Linked DNA regions of Homo sapiens: region 1 is linked to region 2. Evidence: promoter capture Hi-C in 16 types of primary human blood cells and fetal thymus (Javierre and others, 2016). All regions are on one chromosome and are shown on one strand. The core of a region is centred on a gene start or on the middle of the fragment in contact, and the rest is flanking DNA. Distances in the headings are between cores, read along the strand shown.

Region 1 (6,572 bases), core at 1,066-3,565, 250 kb after region 2:
TTTATCTCTTGCTCAACACACAGTGTGATGTGGTCGGGAGGTGACTCTGGGCAGCTGTTCCAGAAGGTGTCTCAGGGTCTAGGCTCAAAGTAATGCTCATCCCTTGCTTCTAACCTGTGGCAGGAAGATTGAGTGGGACATTTTAGGGGCTCAGCTAGAGGTAGCATATACTGAGTGTTGCATATTCCAACAGCCAGGACTCAGTCACACTGTCTTAAAGTAACTGCAAAGGAGACTGGGAAATGTAGTATTCTTATGTGGGGAAGATTTGTGAGCATCAAGCAGATCTTGCCACAATAGTCATGCCTATCAATAGGTTATATATTGTATTACATGATGGCATGAGTAGGCAGTAGAATAAAAGTGGTTGAATTTTGGATATACATTATTTTGGCTGTAGAGTAGGCAGGGCTTACTGATGGATATACATGGGGGATAAAGGATAAAAGAAACCAAATCTGATTCCTGAGTTTTGGCATGTGCAACATGGGGGTTTGTAACACTGGATTCTTGACAGAGAGGAAAAGAGACTTGGAGCAGGAAAAGTATTATTGGTGTTTTTTTTGTTTTGTTTTGTTTTGTTTTGGTGGGAGGAGTTCTATTTTTCCATTGTTAAGTTTGAATTGCCTATTAGATATTCATGTGGAGAGGTCTGCAAGCCACAGGAGAAGACAGGGAAGTAGATCTACATTTGGGAGGCATAGGCATGTGGACAATATTGAATGCCAGGAAGAGGGTGCAGATAGAGAAGCATGGAGAGCCTTTCTGTGAGTCCTGGGGCACATCAATATCTAGAGATGGAGCAGAGGAGAAGTCTATGACAGAGATAGAAAAGAACATCCAGTTAGGTAGATGGAAAACGAGGTAAATGTAATGACATGGATATCTGAGAAGAGATGATTTCAAGAAGAAAGGTGGGGCCACCTTGCATTGAAGACCACTAAGAAAGTGAGCAGGAGAGTGACTAAGAGGGAACCATTAGTTTTGGCACCATGAATGTTACTTGAGGCTCTCAGTGGAACCAGTGTCCTTTCCTTCAGATGCAGGAAACAGAAGCCAGTTGGATGCATTCTGGGAGAATAGGAGTTGAGGAAATGGAGGCAACAACCATAGATAGATACTTTTTATGACTAAAGAGAATGAGATGAAAGGATACCCACCCAGGGTATTAACACTGGTGGGCTCTGAGATATGGGATCAGGCTCATTCAGGAAAGTCTGTATATTGTTCTCATTTGTGGCCACTGAACTCTCTGTTTTGCTACCATGCAAATCAGCTATGAATTGGAGATATATTTTTTTAAAGTATAGAACTAAGACTCTTGGACTGCTGAGGGGCACTGTGTGTGTGTGTGTGTGTGTGTGTGTGTGTGTGTGTGTCTAGGCATGCTCTCAACACTTGGAGAGGCAGTTCATGACCCTGTCTTAGATTTTACTTCTGGCTCGTGCAGAGCTTCCTGGACAGCCTCAGGTGAGAACCTAGGGCCTTGTCATGTCTTTCCTAGCATACTTATAGTCCTGAGTATGCATGCTATTCCTATGCATGCTTAAAGCCCCCCATGGACACTTTGTTCCCTGGATTTTACTTTTTAAAAGCTTTTTTGGTTAGCTTGTTATTTGATCCACTCTTATCACTACCTCAGGCAGCTGCAGTATTAAACACTTGCCATTGATGATTTTTGATGAATGCCTGTGGAGAAAAGGCCTTTCACACTGCAGGAAATCTGAGTGAGGTAAAATAAAGAGAAGACCTTTGAGTGGCGCTTTCTTAGGAAGCTCCAGATTAAATAAGGACAGTTGTCTAGGATTGGGGTGTTGGATGTTTCAACCTGTTCTTCCTCTCCAGTAGCTGCTAGGTTGCAGATTTTAACTATGATTACTGATTTTTGATTTTCAAAGGTGCTGTGCAGTTGGGATAAAGTGAGTAAGAATAGAGCAATTTATATGCCAAAAGAAATGCTGTCCTTACCAATATTCAGCCATTTTCTTGAATAAATGCTCTCTGGATTATTATAAGATTTTGGTTAATTTCTAGAGTTCTGAAAGACTTGATTTCAATAATTATTGCCTGTGTTCCCATTGCTTTTATGGAGTAGGGGAGTTTTGGAGGTCCTTATTCTGCCATTCCCTTCTGACATCACTCTAGCTGCTATTTCTAGTAACTCCGTTTCCTGTCCAGTCCTCTTTGTGCTTACTCTCTGTTCTATATACTTTCTCTTTCATCTTTTCATCTTCCTTCTGATTATTTTATTGGCTTTCTGCATAATGCAAGATCATGTTTGAAATTACTCAAATGTTATCTTCCCTGAATTGTTTATTTCTGCACCAGTTGTCTTACAATGAGTACTTTTTCAGCTAGGGAAGAGGTCATTTGCAATTGAGCTCTCAATAGTTCTAGAAGGTGAGACATGAAACATACAATAGGACAATTCTGAACAAGGGTATTCCTAAGTTGACTGAAAGAATATTCACAAGGAAAAGCTCTTTGTAAAATTTATTTCAAAAGGAGGGGAGGGAGACTTGAAGCTAGGTACATTCATCTTCAATAAAGCATTGACTGTGGAGAAAGGAAATGAATATAGTAAAATTGGAAGCCAGTTTTTATCTGAGCTCAAAGCTAATTCCTCCAAGGAAAGCAGCATCTCATAGTTATTTGAGGGCATTTGAAGTGTAATTTTGATACAGTTGAGAGAAACTGTGCTAGCAAGAAATATTATAAACATAAAAATGTGGGAAATTATTAGTTCAACCTATGCATGTGTAAAACTTTTTTTAATATAATAATGTGGGACAACTTTCAGTTATAACAAACTTCATAAGACATCAAGAGGTTCATAGTGTAGAGGTTCCTATAAGTGTAATAAATGTAGGAAGGCCTTCACTAGAAAATTCCACTTCATTGTGCATAGAGAAGTCATACTGGAGAGAATTTTTATGATTTTAATTAAAGTAAAAAGCCACAGTACCAGGGGTTAAAATTCTTTAGCCACCCAAAATTTGTAGAAATGATAATCCTAATCAATATAACAAATATGGCAAAGCTTTCTTCAGTGGATAATACTTTATTGTATATCAGAAGAATCACACAGGAGGGGAAATTAGATTCCTATAGCTGCCAAAACAGATAAGCACAAATTGGGTGGCTTAAAACAACAGGAGTTTATTCTCTCACAGCTTAAGAGGCCAGAAGTCAGAAATAAAGGGATTTGGGAAGTTTGTTCCTTCTGGAGGCTCTCAAGAAGAAACTGTTCTATGCCCTTCTCCTAGATTCTGCTGGTTGCCAGTAATTTTTGGCATTGCTTGATGTGTAGCTATATCACTCCAGTCTCCATCCTCACATGGCTTTCTTCTCTGTGTGTGTCTCTGTCTCTTCTACTCTTCTTGTAAGGAAACCAGTCATCATATTTAGGGCATATCCTAATTTCAGTATGACTTTATCTTCAATAATTACATCTGAAAAGACCCCATTCCAAATAAAGTTACATTCCAAGATTCTGGGTGGATGTGAATTTTGAGGGGGAGGTGGACACTATTCAACCCACTACAAACCCCGTGAATGTAGTAAATGTGAGAAACCTTGTACCTGTAGCTCAGTTTCTGTACAACAATAGTAAGAAGTCCTTTGAATGCTAGCAATGTGGGCAGTTCTTTAACTATAAATCATCCTTCATTAGTATTGGAGAATTCATACTGGAGAGAATACAGTATAAACTGTAATTAGTGTGGAAATACTTTTCAAAATAACTTCTCTTTTACTAATGTAAAAACTCCTAATACTCCTAAATCTCATTAATATAGTCAATGTATTAAATTATTTAGATACCTCATTAACCACAGAGAATGCACATTGAAGAGAAACCTCATGATTATGTCACAGAGCCTTTAGCTATAAAGACCTCATTTAGAGAGCAAATAATTTACACTGGAGAAAACATTATCAATTTATTACATTCATCAGAATGTATAAGAGTTCATTAATTACTTGGCATGTAAAGACTCATGCACGTGGATAAACAACATGTGAGAACTCATACAGGTGAAAAGCCAGTTTGGGAAAATCACCTGGAAAAGAAACTTTGTAAATCACTAAATTCATCCTGAGTACATACTGAATTATTCTATTAATTTGGAAAATTTGGAATTCATGTAAACATATTCTAATAAATTGATATTATCAGATACCAAAAAGAAAAACTTATAAGCTTTAAGATTCTTCAGTATAGTGTTTATAATTTTTTGCATAATTTAAATTAATTCAGGTAGCAGAATAAAAATTCAAATACACTGGAAAGGAATAGGAATATGATAGGGTATGATTCAGAGTCCCTACTCTCGTAGTACCTTACTTTTATTTTTTAAACCAACAAGTTAGAAGGGAAACCTATTTATGAGGGTCATGTACCATATTTTATCAAATCAAACTTGTAATGAACTGTGAGATATGCCATTATTTTGTGTACCACTAAGACTTAAAAAACCTCCTAGACTATGGTATTTCATTGATTATAAGATGCATCATGATTCAGAGGTGTTGAAATGTGGGGGTATAAGTGAACCCTACAATGGAGTCTCTAAGCCATATGATAATTCAGTAATATTTCATTAGGTAGAGGGAAAAATGCATTGGATTTGAGCCCAAATTAACAAAATCTAATCTTTTCCTCTCTACCAAAAATCTTGTGCTGAAATAGTAATTGCACTTATTTCTGTAATATTTTGCTTTCTTTTCAGAAATCTTTTTTGGTATTTCAGCATGTGTATGGATGGTATACTAAGAATTGATCACATTTGGTTGTTGAGGGGCCAGGATGGCTGATTGGAAGTAGCTGCAGTCTGTGGCACTCACAGAGAGGAATGAAAGGAGCAAGTGAATTCAGCACCTTCAATTGAGATATTCGGGTTCTCATATTGGGACTGACTAAGCAAATAGCTTGACCCACAGAGAATGAAAAGAAGTGGGGTGGGGTGATGACCCACTTGGGAGCAGCACCAAGCCAAGGGAACCCCCACCCCCAGCCAAGGGAAGTGGTGAGTCAATGCGTGACCCTTCCCCAGAAATTACACTCATCCCATGGATCTCTGCAAGCTGTGGATCAGGAGATCCCCTCATGAGCCACAATACCAGGGTCTTGGGCTCGATACATGGCCTGTGTGGAGTCTTGGCAGAGTGGCCACTCAGGCACACACAGACACCCAGGAGTTTTGCATACTCCAGCCCCAGGATCTGTGGCAAGGCAGAAGATTCATCTGTGCATGTCCCTAGGAAGGGGGCTGAGTCTGGGGAGCCAAGTGGCATCATTCTGCAGGCCCCATTTCCATGGCATCTCACAGGTTGAGACCCAATGGCTTGGAATTCCAGCCAGCCGGCAGCAGTAGGCTGGAGTCTGCCTGAGTCTGGACCAAGTTCCCAGGGGTAGGGGTGGCTGCCATCTCTGTGGTTTGGTAGACTCAGTTGTTTCAGCCTGCCAGCTTTGAAAAATACAGGTGGTCTGAACAAGGGGGGGATCCCCACAGGACAGCACAGCTGCCTTGCCAGATCTTGGCCAGACTGCTTTTTTAAGCAGGACCCTGAACCATTTCTTCTCACTGGGTGAGACCTCCCTGCAGGGGCTTCAGCCACTCCAGCAAGTGTTCTATAGACAGAGCTCTGATCTCTACCCCCAGGGAGAGCTTTGTCCCACAAAGCTCCAGGGGGAGGGGTGGCTACCATCTCTGCAGTTTGGTAGACTCAGCTGTTCCAGCCTGCTGGCTTTGGAGAATACAAATGGTCCAGATGAGGAATGGTCCTCCCCAACTCAGCTTACCTGCTCTACCAAAGGGCAGTCAGACTGCTTCTTTAGGTAGGTCCCTGATCCTGTTCTTTCCCACTGGGTGAGACCTCCTAGCAGGGGTCTTCAACCACCTCCTGCAGCCACATTCAGGCTGGCAACAAGTGAGTGGCCCCGGAGTTGGAGTTTCTGGAGGAAGGAGCAGGCTTCCCTCTTTGCTGTTTTGCAGGCATCACTTGTGATACCTCCAGGTATGGGAAAAACCGAGGCAACTAGGGTCTGGAGTGGAACCCCAGCAAACCACAACAGCTTTACTGAAGAGTGGCCTGTTAAAACAAACAGAAAATAACAACATCCACAAAGATCTCACAAAAGTCAGAAACCTCAAAGATTGAAGGTAGATAACCCCACAAAGATGAGAAAAAATCAACACAAAAACACTGAAAACTCAAAAAGTCAGTGTGTCTTCTCCTCCAAATGACCACAACACCTATCCAGCAAGGGCACAGAACTGGGCTGAGGCTGAGATGGCTGAATTGACAGAAGTAGACTTTAGAAGGTGGGTAATAATGAACTTCACAGAGCTAAAGGAGCATGTTATAACCCAATGCAAAGAAGCTAGGAATCATGATAAGACAATACAGGTGCGACAACCAGAATAGCCAGTTATGTTTCTCTCCTTTAGAGAGATTTAGAAGTCCTGGCCACAGCTATGAGCCTGCAAGATAAAGAAATCAAGAGTATTCTAGTAGGAAGAGAGGAAGTCATATTGTCTTTGTTTACAGATGACATGATCCTATATCTA
Region 2 (6,977 bases), core at 34-2,533:
GTGGAGCACCAGGAACTCACATTCATTGCTGGTGGGAATGCAAAATGGCACAACCACTTTGGAAAACAGTTTGGCTGTTTTTTTTTTTTTTTTTTTTTTTTTTTTTTTTTTTCAGACAGGGTCTTTCTCTGTCACCCAGGCTGGAGTGCAGTGAAGCAATCACGATTCACTGCAGCCTCAACCTACCAGGCTCATGTGATTCTCCCACCTCAGCCTCTTGAGTAGCTGGGACTACAGGCATGCACCACCACGCCCAACTGATTTTTGTATTTTTTGTAGAGGCGGGGTTTTGCCATGTGGCCCAGCCAATCTGAAGCCAATCTGAAAAGGCTACACACTGTATGATTCCAACAATACAACATTCTGGAAAAGGCAAAACTATGGGAACAGTAAAAAGATCTGTGGTTGCCAGGGGTTAGGGGGAAGGGAGCACAGGGGATTACGGGTGGAGTTTAGAGAATTTTTTGGGCGGTGACACTATTCTGTGTGATACAATAATGGTGGATAAGGGTCGTTGTACATTTGTCCAAACACATGGAATGTACAGCTTCAAGAATGAGCCCTCACGTAAACCATGGGCTGTGGGTGACACTGATGTGGCAGTGCAGGTCCCTCATGCACCCCTCTGCTGGGGATGTTGATAGAGGGGAGGTTGTGCACGTGTAGGGGCAGGGAGTGTGTGGGAACTCTCTGTACTTTCTGCTCAGTTTTCCTGGGAACCTAAAACTGTTCTAAAAAATTAAGTCTACTTAAAAAACAAAACATAACAGCCCACTGCGTGGCCCTCCCCATACTCCCAAAGCTCACATTCTAGTGGGGAGTCAGACACAGAAACAGACACAACCATGTTGGCAGTCACTGCAATGATGAGGCAGACACAGGGGGCTGTGGAAACTCAAGAGGGGCCATTATAGTGGCATCAGGGAAGGCTTCCTGGAGGAGGTGTTGCCTCCAGTGGGTTTTGACGTGCAGCAGGAATCACCCAGCCGGAGATCAGGGCAGGCACTGCAGGCAGCATGCTCAAAGGCACGAAGGAGTGAGGTGGTGGGGGAGCAGCGGAAGTTCCTAGCGCAGCGTGGGGGTGCTCTGTGCACAGATAAGTTGCGGGCCGCGGGAAACAGGACCCTGGGGGGCCCCCTAGAGCCTCGCGGAGCGGCTTGCAGAGGAGCCTCGGGGCCACGGCGTGTGTGCAGCGACACCTGGCGGTGGCATGCGGAACTGCGGACGGCTGCGCAGGAGCGGACAGCGGAGAGGCGGTACTGACCGGTGCGAGGCGGTGCTGACCGGTGCGGGCCGGTGCGGGCCAGTGCAGGCCAGGCCCGGCCGGGGCGAGGCAGGTGGCCAGGTCCGAGGACCGCGTCGCACAGCAGCTTTCAGGACCTGGAGAGAAATCGAGGTGGGGGTGCGTGAACGTGGATGGGCAGAAATAACATCTTTTGTACTCTAATTGGAACATAGCATGTCCTTTAATTATGAACGCAATGAGCTATAGTAGCACTACTGATTTCAGAGATGGCGCAATCTCGCTTTCCTTCCTTAGTACTTTGAAATTGCAGTGGGTATTAGACCCGCTGCTAGACCGTGTCATTCACTGGGTTAAGAAGGAAGCCCAGGTAGCGCCACGTCACAGACCCCTTTTAGTATTCTGATAACTATAATTTAAATCTAATCGGCATTTAAGAGCCTACAGGCTTGCCCAGACTGCCAAAGGCGTCTCTGGCACACACACACGCACACACACTAACATGCACACAAGCAGACACACATGCACGCAGACACGCACATGAACACATGCACACGCACACTTGCATGTACACACGTGTGTACACATACACACATGCATGGTTGAGAACCTCTCTGGAGAGGAAAGGCAACACCAGTGTGTCCGCTATGTAGTGGTTTATCAGACAGTTTATTGTGGACATGGACATGAATAAGAAAGGGGCACTGCTAATTAGGCCAAGGCAGTGGATATGAGGTGGGACTGTCCCTAGCACACTGGGACCAGGGCTACCCTGAGGCCTGCAGGACACCGGGAGCTGTGTGTGAGTTTGCATCTCTGTAGGCGCGTGGCTGTGAGTGTGGGGGAACCTGGTGAAACGCATCTGAGGAGGGGAGGGGGTGTCTGCCACTGTTCTGGGTGTGTGTGTATGTGTGTGTGTGTGTGTGTGTATAGGGCATTCTGATCTCTAGTACCTGGGTTCTAGCAGATGCCTGACCTACAGCCCTGTGTTCAGCCTGGTCATTCCAGCTCTCAGAGAGACCTTGCCCAGCCATTTCCTGGGGTAGCAAATGGTCTGGAACCAGTCTGTCTTGCCTCCCCTGAGGGAGACAGGCGGGCTACTTGTGTAGCCTTCTTACCTCACTAAACTCTTCCTTCCTTCCATGATGATCCCCGTTTTACAGACACAGAAACTGAGGCCCAGAAGAGCTGAATATTTGGCCCAGGCCACACAGGGAGTCCAGCCACGGGTGATGAGGGGCTGAGGATCGGGGAGGGACAGGAAACCTGGCCTTTCTGAGCCTTGCTGTCCTTATCTGCTGCGTCAGGAGGTGAGAGGAAGATGTTTGGGGCTGAGCTAGCAGAGAGGACACTGAGCTTTTGGCCTCTCCCCTGTGTAAACCCCACCATGACTCCCCATTGCCACGGCATCAAGTCCCAGTTCCATGGCCTGACATTCCGGTCCCTGCCCCCTTCAGATTCATTGCCCATCACTCCCCGTCCACTCCCTGCACTCCAGCCACCCTGGCCACCAGCCCTTCCTAGCACCCTCCAAGACCCTTCTCATCTCCACGCCTCTGCCCATTCTGTACCTGGCAAACTCCTACGCATCCTGCAATGCTCAGCTCTGAGCACCCCACACAGAGTTGGCATCTGCCTGCTGTGTGCCCCCACCGCCCTCACACATCCCTGCAGGTAGTCCTTCTCAGGACTGATGCAGCAAAATAAGATCCGAGTCCCCAGCACCTAGCACCGTGCATAAAGCAGGCACTAACAAATGCGTGTCGAATGAATAAGCAAATGTGTGCGTGCACACTCCACCCGCCCCCCTCCTCATGAACTGCTTGAGAGAAGGGCTGGGTCCTTTCCAGCTACTCAGGTGGCAATCGGAGTTTGTCCAATGTCCAGGCTGGAGCCAGAGTTGAAGGGAGGAGCAGGCTGGGGGTGGTGGTGGCTGCATTTGGTGTTAGGAGGCCCAGGCTGGGCCTGTGAGCTGGACACCCCACCCCAACACCTGAGGTATCTGCTCCAGGTCCCTCTCTGCATGCTCCTGGATGGGGCTTGGCTGTGGCTTCCACTCAGGCCCCTGGATATCCCCACTGCAGCTTGGCCCTCTGTGACTCACTCTTTCTTGGCCCTAAAGGTCAGTGCAGGGCCAGGCCTCGTCCTCTTCTCTGTCCATTTATCAGGTCGGAAGCTCAAGGCTGACCTGGCTGGGGCCAAGGTTTATGTGCTTGTTCACCCCACCCAGCACCTCTGACCTTGTGAAACATGCCAGGAAGGGTGGGGACAGGAAGGTGACACTAGGGCCTCTGTGTCTGCCCCGGGGCACTGTCAGCTGGGTCAGGATTTATGCCCTGATGTTCCCACCCCCAGACCTGGTCACCAGGCCCACGCCCTAGGTCTGGTGCTGAGCCATCCCTGCAGGGGGCCCAGCAAAGCCTGAGGGCTGGGAGCTGGCTGGGGTGCGGGGTGGGCCGGGGTTGGGGGTTGGCAGGAGGCAACTGCAGATTAGGTCCCAAGTGAACACTGCTAGCGTCTTTGTCCTGCTGAGAGACATCGGCTGGGACATCTTGCCTCCTGGGGCCTGTTTCCGCAACTGTAAATGGGCATTGCCTTAGTAGCCACCCTTTGGGGCTCTTGGATAGCACATGTCCACAGAACCTCAGCTAATGTGCCTGCCTGCAGTGTTCCCCATTTTCTTTTGGGGAGCTCCCCTTGCCAGTACCAACGCACATGGTCTTTGCTGGGCCATCCTTTGCACACTGTATCTCCAGACCTGGGGCTTGAGAGGGCGCCTCCTCAACAAGGGCCCCAAACGTGGGCTGGGGCTCCAGGGGCAGGAGGTAAGGGAAGAGGTGGTTTTAGTGGGTTTGCTGGCAGCAATCTGAATCCAGGGGTTGCAGCGGAAGGAATTGGAGATGGGAGGAGGCGCAAGGCCAGTTGGATCAGGGGATACGCAGGAGATGGTGTCTTTGGTCACCCAGTTGCTCAGTCGGAAACCTGGACAGCCTGGCCCCTGCCCGTCCCCTCATCTCCTAGCCAGCGGTGAGTCTTGCACAGCCCTCCGCCCACCCACTCCAGCACTCGCCACTTCCTGCCTCTTCCCCTACCTCTACTGCCCCGGCCTGCTTCCACTACCTGCGTCTCTCACCGACGTCACTGCAATCGCCTCCTCGGAGGCCTCTGCCTCCTCTCTTCTCCACACCCTCACCCTCCATTGTCACTACCTTGCTCCTCACAGCTGGCTAAGCCATTATGACTAATGACTGTTCTCAGCTCCCAGCCCCATGGTTTCCATCACACCAGGATACAGTCACATTCCTTGCCGTGGCCTGTGAGACCCACAGAGTCCTGGCACTGCCGCCCCCTGAACCTCCTCTCCCTCCCCTTTCTCTGCCGTGTCCACAGCTCAGTGAGCCCATTCCCACCTCGGGGCCTTTGCACTTGCCGGTCCCTCTGCCTGGCACATGCTGGCTTCAGTGTTCATAAAGCTCCCTCCCTCCCGTCACTCAGGTCTCTCCTCAGATGTCACCTCGTCAGAGTGGCCTGTGCTGACTGCCATATCTACAATACCCTTCCCAACGCCTGGCATCCGCCTCCTCACTCTTGTATGAGTGTCTTCAAGGCACGTTCACTTGTGGCTATTGCTTAATATATTTAGTTGCAGGAGTATAATCTGGGGGCCCCTGGGAGACAGACCCTGGCATGATGGGTGTTGTGATGGGGGAAACCGGGCCATGTCCTGGGGACTGAGAGCAAGTTGCTGCCCTTCTGGGCCTCAGTTTCCCCTTCTGTTCCGTAAGGCCCAGGCTCTCTCCCTGCCCGCTCACGTGTCCTGGGAATGCTGAGCCTTTGCTTTGTCCTGGAAGTGGGGTTGCCATGGAAACAGAGGCAGGAGGCTCCAGCAGAGGCAGCATCCGCCTCCCTTTGTTAGACCCAGGGCCTGCTTTCTGGGGGGCCCCCTTCTGTGGAGGAGTCTGTGCTTCTTGAGGGGCCAGTAGCCTCTACTTGGCCCTGCTCTGGCCGTCCTGCTCCCAGCCCCCAGCTTGCAATTTGCTTCACTAGATTGTAAAGCAGATGATGAAAGGGCAGTGTACCAGGTTAGGAGTGGAAGGTCAGGGGCATCAGGACCCAGGGCACCGGGAAGCAGGAGTGTGTTCTCACCTCAAGTGGCTTTAGACAGTTCCCCCATCGTCCTCTGTGCCCCTAGCCCTGGCACTCCCTCTGCACACAGCTCCGCTTTGATCAAACCAGTGCCTGGCCCACCTCCCTGCTCCCATGCCCACTGGGGCAGGATGTGGGCTTGGCGGGGAGTGACACATGGCAGCCCTAGGCGTGGCGACAACTGGAGACATCCCGTCTGCCTCAGGTTCCCCCTTAGGGCCGGGCGATACAGGAAGGGGGACCTGCTCGTGAGCACAGCTGGGCGATGGGATGCCAACTCCTTGCCCAGGTAGCCCCAGGACGGCGCTGCAGCAGGAGTGTCCCTGATCCCGGGTGGTCGCTCTCCAGCCCGCCAGGCTCTCCGACGGGCTCAACCCGCAGCCCCTGGCCGGGGCTGGGGCCGGGACGCCAGGCCCCTGTGGGGACGGTTCCCTCCAGCAGTTGGCGAGGCTCGGCCGGCCAAGGGGCCGGTTCCTCCCGCTGGCAGCCGCCCGGCCGCCGCCTTCCGCCCTTGCCCGCCCGCGGCCGTCCCCGAGCCGCTCCCGGCCGGGCCTTGAGCGCCTTTTCCTCTTCCCGGCGCCCCGGCCGCCCGGCGCGTCCAGCTAAGCAGGAAGGGCCCGCCCGCGCCCAAGGCCAGGGCCTCAGCCGGAGGTCGCCCGCCGCCAGGGGCCGCTGCGGCGCCGGGGACGCGCGAGGCCTGAGGGTCTCCCAGGCGCGCCCAAGACCCATCCGCGCCGGCCGCCTGCCCTGCTGCGTCTGCCCACTGCCCCTGGGGCGCGTGATGGTCCCCTCGACGCTCCGCCCTGGCTTCCCCCATTAGTGCCATTAGTGCCTGTGTGAGTGGGACCTGGGTTGGAGGGACCTGCCAAGCTAACCCTAGGGGACCCCTCCTCCAGGGAGCCACCTCCCCCTCGCACTTTCGAGGGGAGTGGCTGCCCAGAGATAACCAGAGACTGCAGGGCGCCTTGGGCCACCTCTCTGGAAGGCACAGACAGGTGCCATCCTTTTCTGGGCCTGAAGGCTTTCCCAGAGAGCAGGAGGAGGAAGTCCCGGGAACATCCCATTAAGGAGATGACACTCTCTTAGGTGTCTATAATATCGCTGCTTTGGAATCTCAGCGGCAGAATTCAGGACCCCTGCCCTCAGAGTTTCAGTACAGTGTAGCCATGAGGCACCCGGATGGCTTGGGTTCAAATCCCAGCTCTGCCATTTTCCAGGCAAGTCCCCTAACTTCTCTGGGCCTAGGTTTCCCATCTGTGAGATGGGGCTGCTGATGGTACCAGCCCCATCGGGTTGTGGCAAGGACTGGACACCCAGTGCAGTTAAGCTCTAGCACAGCACCCGAGGTGATGATTACCATCACTCGCTACAGTGGATTGGACTCACAGGGTCAGGAGCCCAGAGACTTACATTGGAGCACAGAGATTCAGGGTCTTGAGAAAGATAGCAGGATCTACCTTGCAGGGAATATTTGGTCCAAAATTTTCTCTTCCTGGGAAGAAAAGGAAAATGAGAGGCCCCAGTACATTGAGCCACAGTGGTGAAGTCTGTGCCAGGCCAAGACTGAGGCCTTGGAGATGCAAACCAG

Evidence for each region. Contacts are between HindIII fragments. The CHiCAGO score rates a contact against its expected background, and 5 or more counts as called.
Region 1: a contact is called between a fragment that was not itself captured here and the fragment with the promoter of LINC00620 in region 2, in 2 of 17 cell types (non-activated CD4 T cells and naive CD4 T cells). The highest score is 5.6, in non-activated CD4 T cells.

What each region holds. Positions count from the first base shown.
Region 1 is chr3:13,898,910-13,905,481 of GRCh38, forward strand. LOC105376957 (a long non-coding RNA gene) reads left to right here. Exons shown (of 3, transcript XR_001740602.3): 3 at 4,731-6,572. Among named protein-coding and RNA genes, the nearest start is that of WNT7A, 22 kb to the left of the region's middle. RefSeq lists a silencer at 5,083-5,377. The HindIII fragment of the contact is 1,445 bases long and covers 1,594-3,038 here.
Region 2 is chr3:13,649,438-13,656,414 of GRCh38, forward strand. LINC00620 (long intergenic non-protein coding RNA 620) reads left to right here and starts at 1,284. Exons shown (of 6, transcript NR_027103.1): 1 at 1,284-1,396. It overlaps LOC100293612 (a long non-coding RNA gene), which reads right to left and starts at 4,741. Exons shown (of 2, transcript XR_110033.3): 1 at 4,654-4,741. RefSeq lists an enhancer at 5,097-5,597. The HindIII fragment of the contact is 11,588 bases long and covers 1-6,977 here.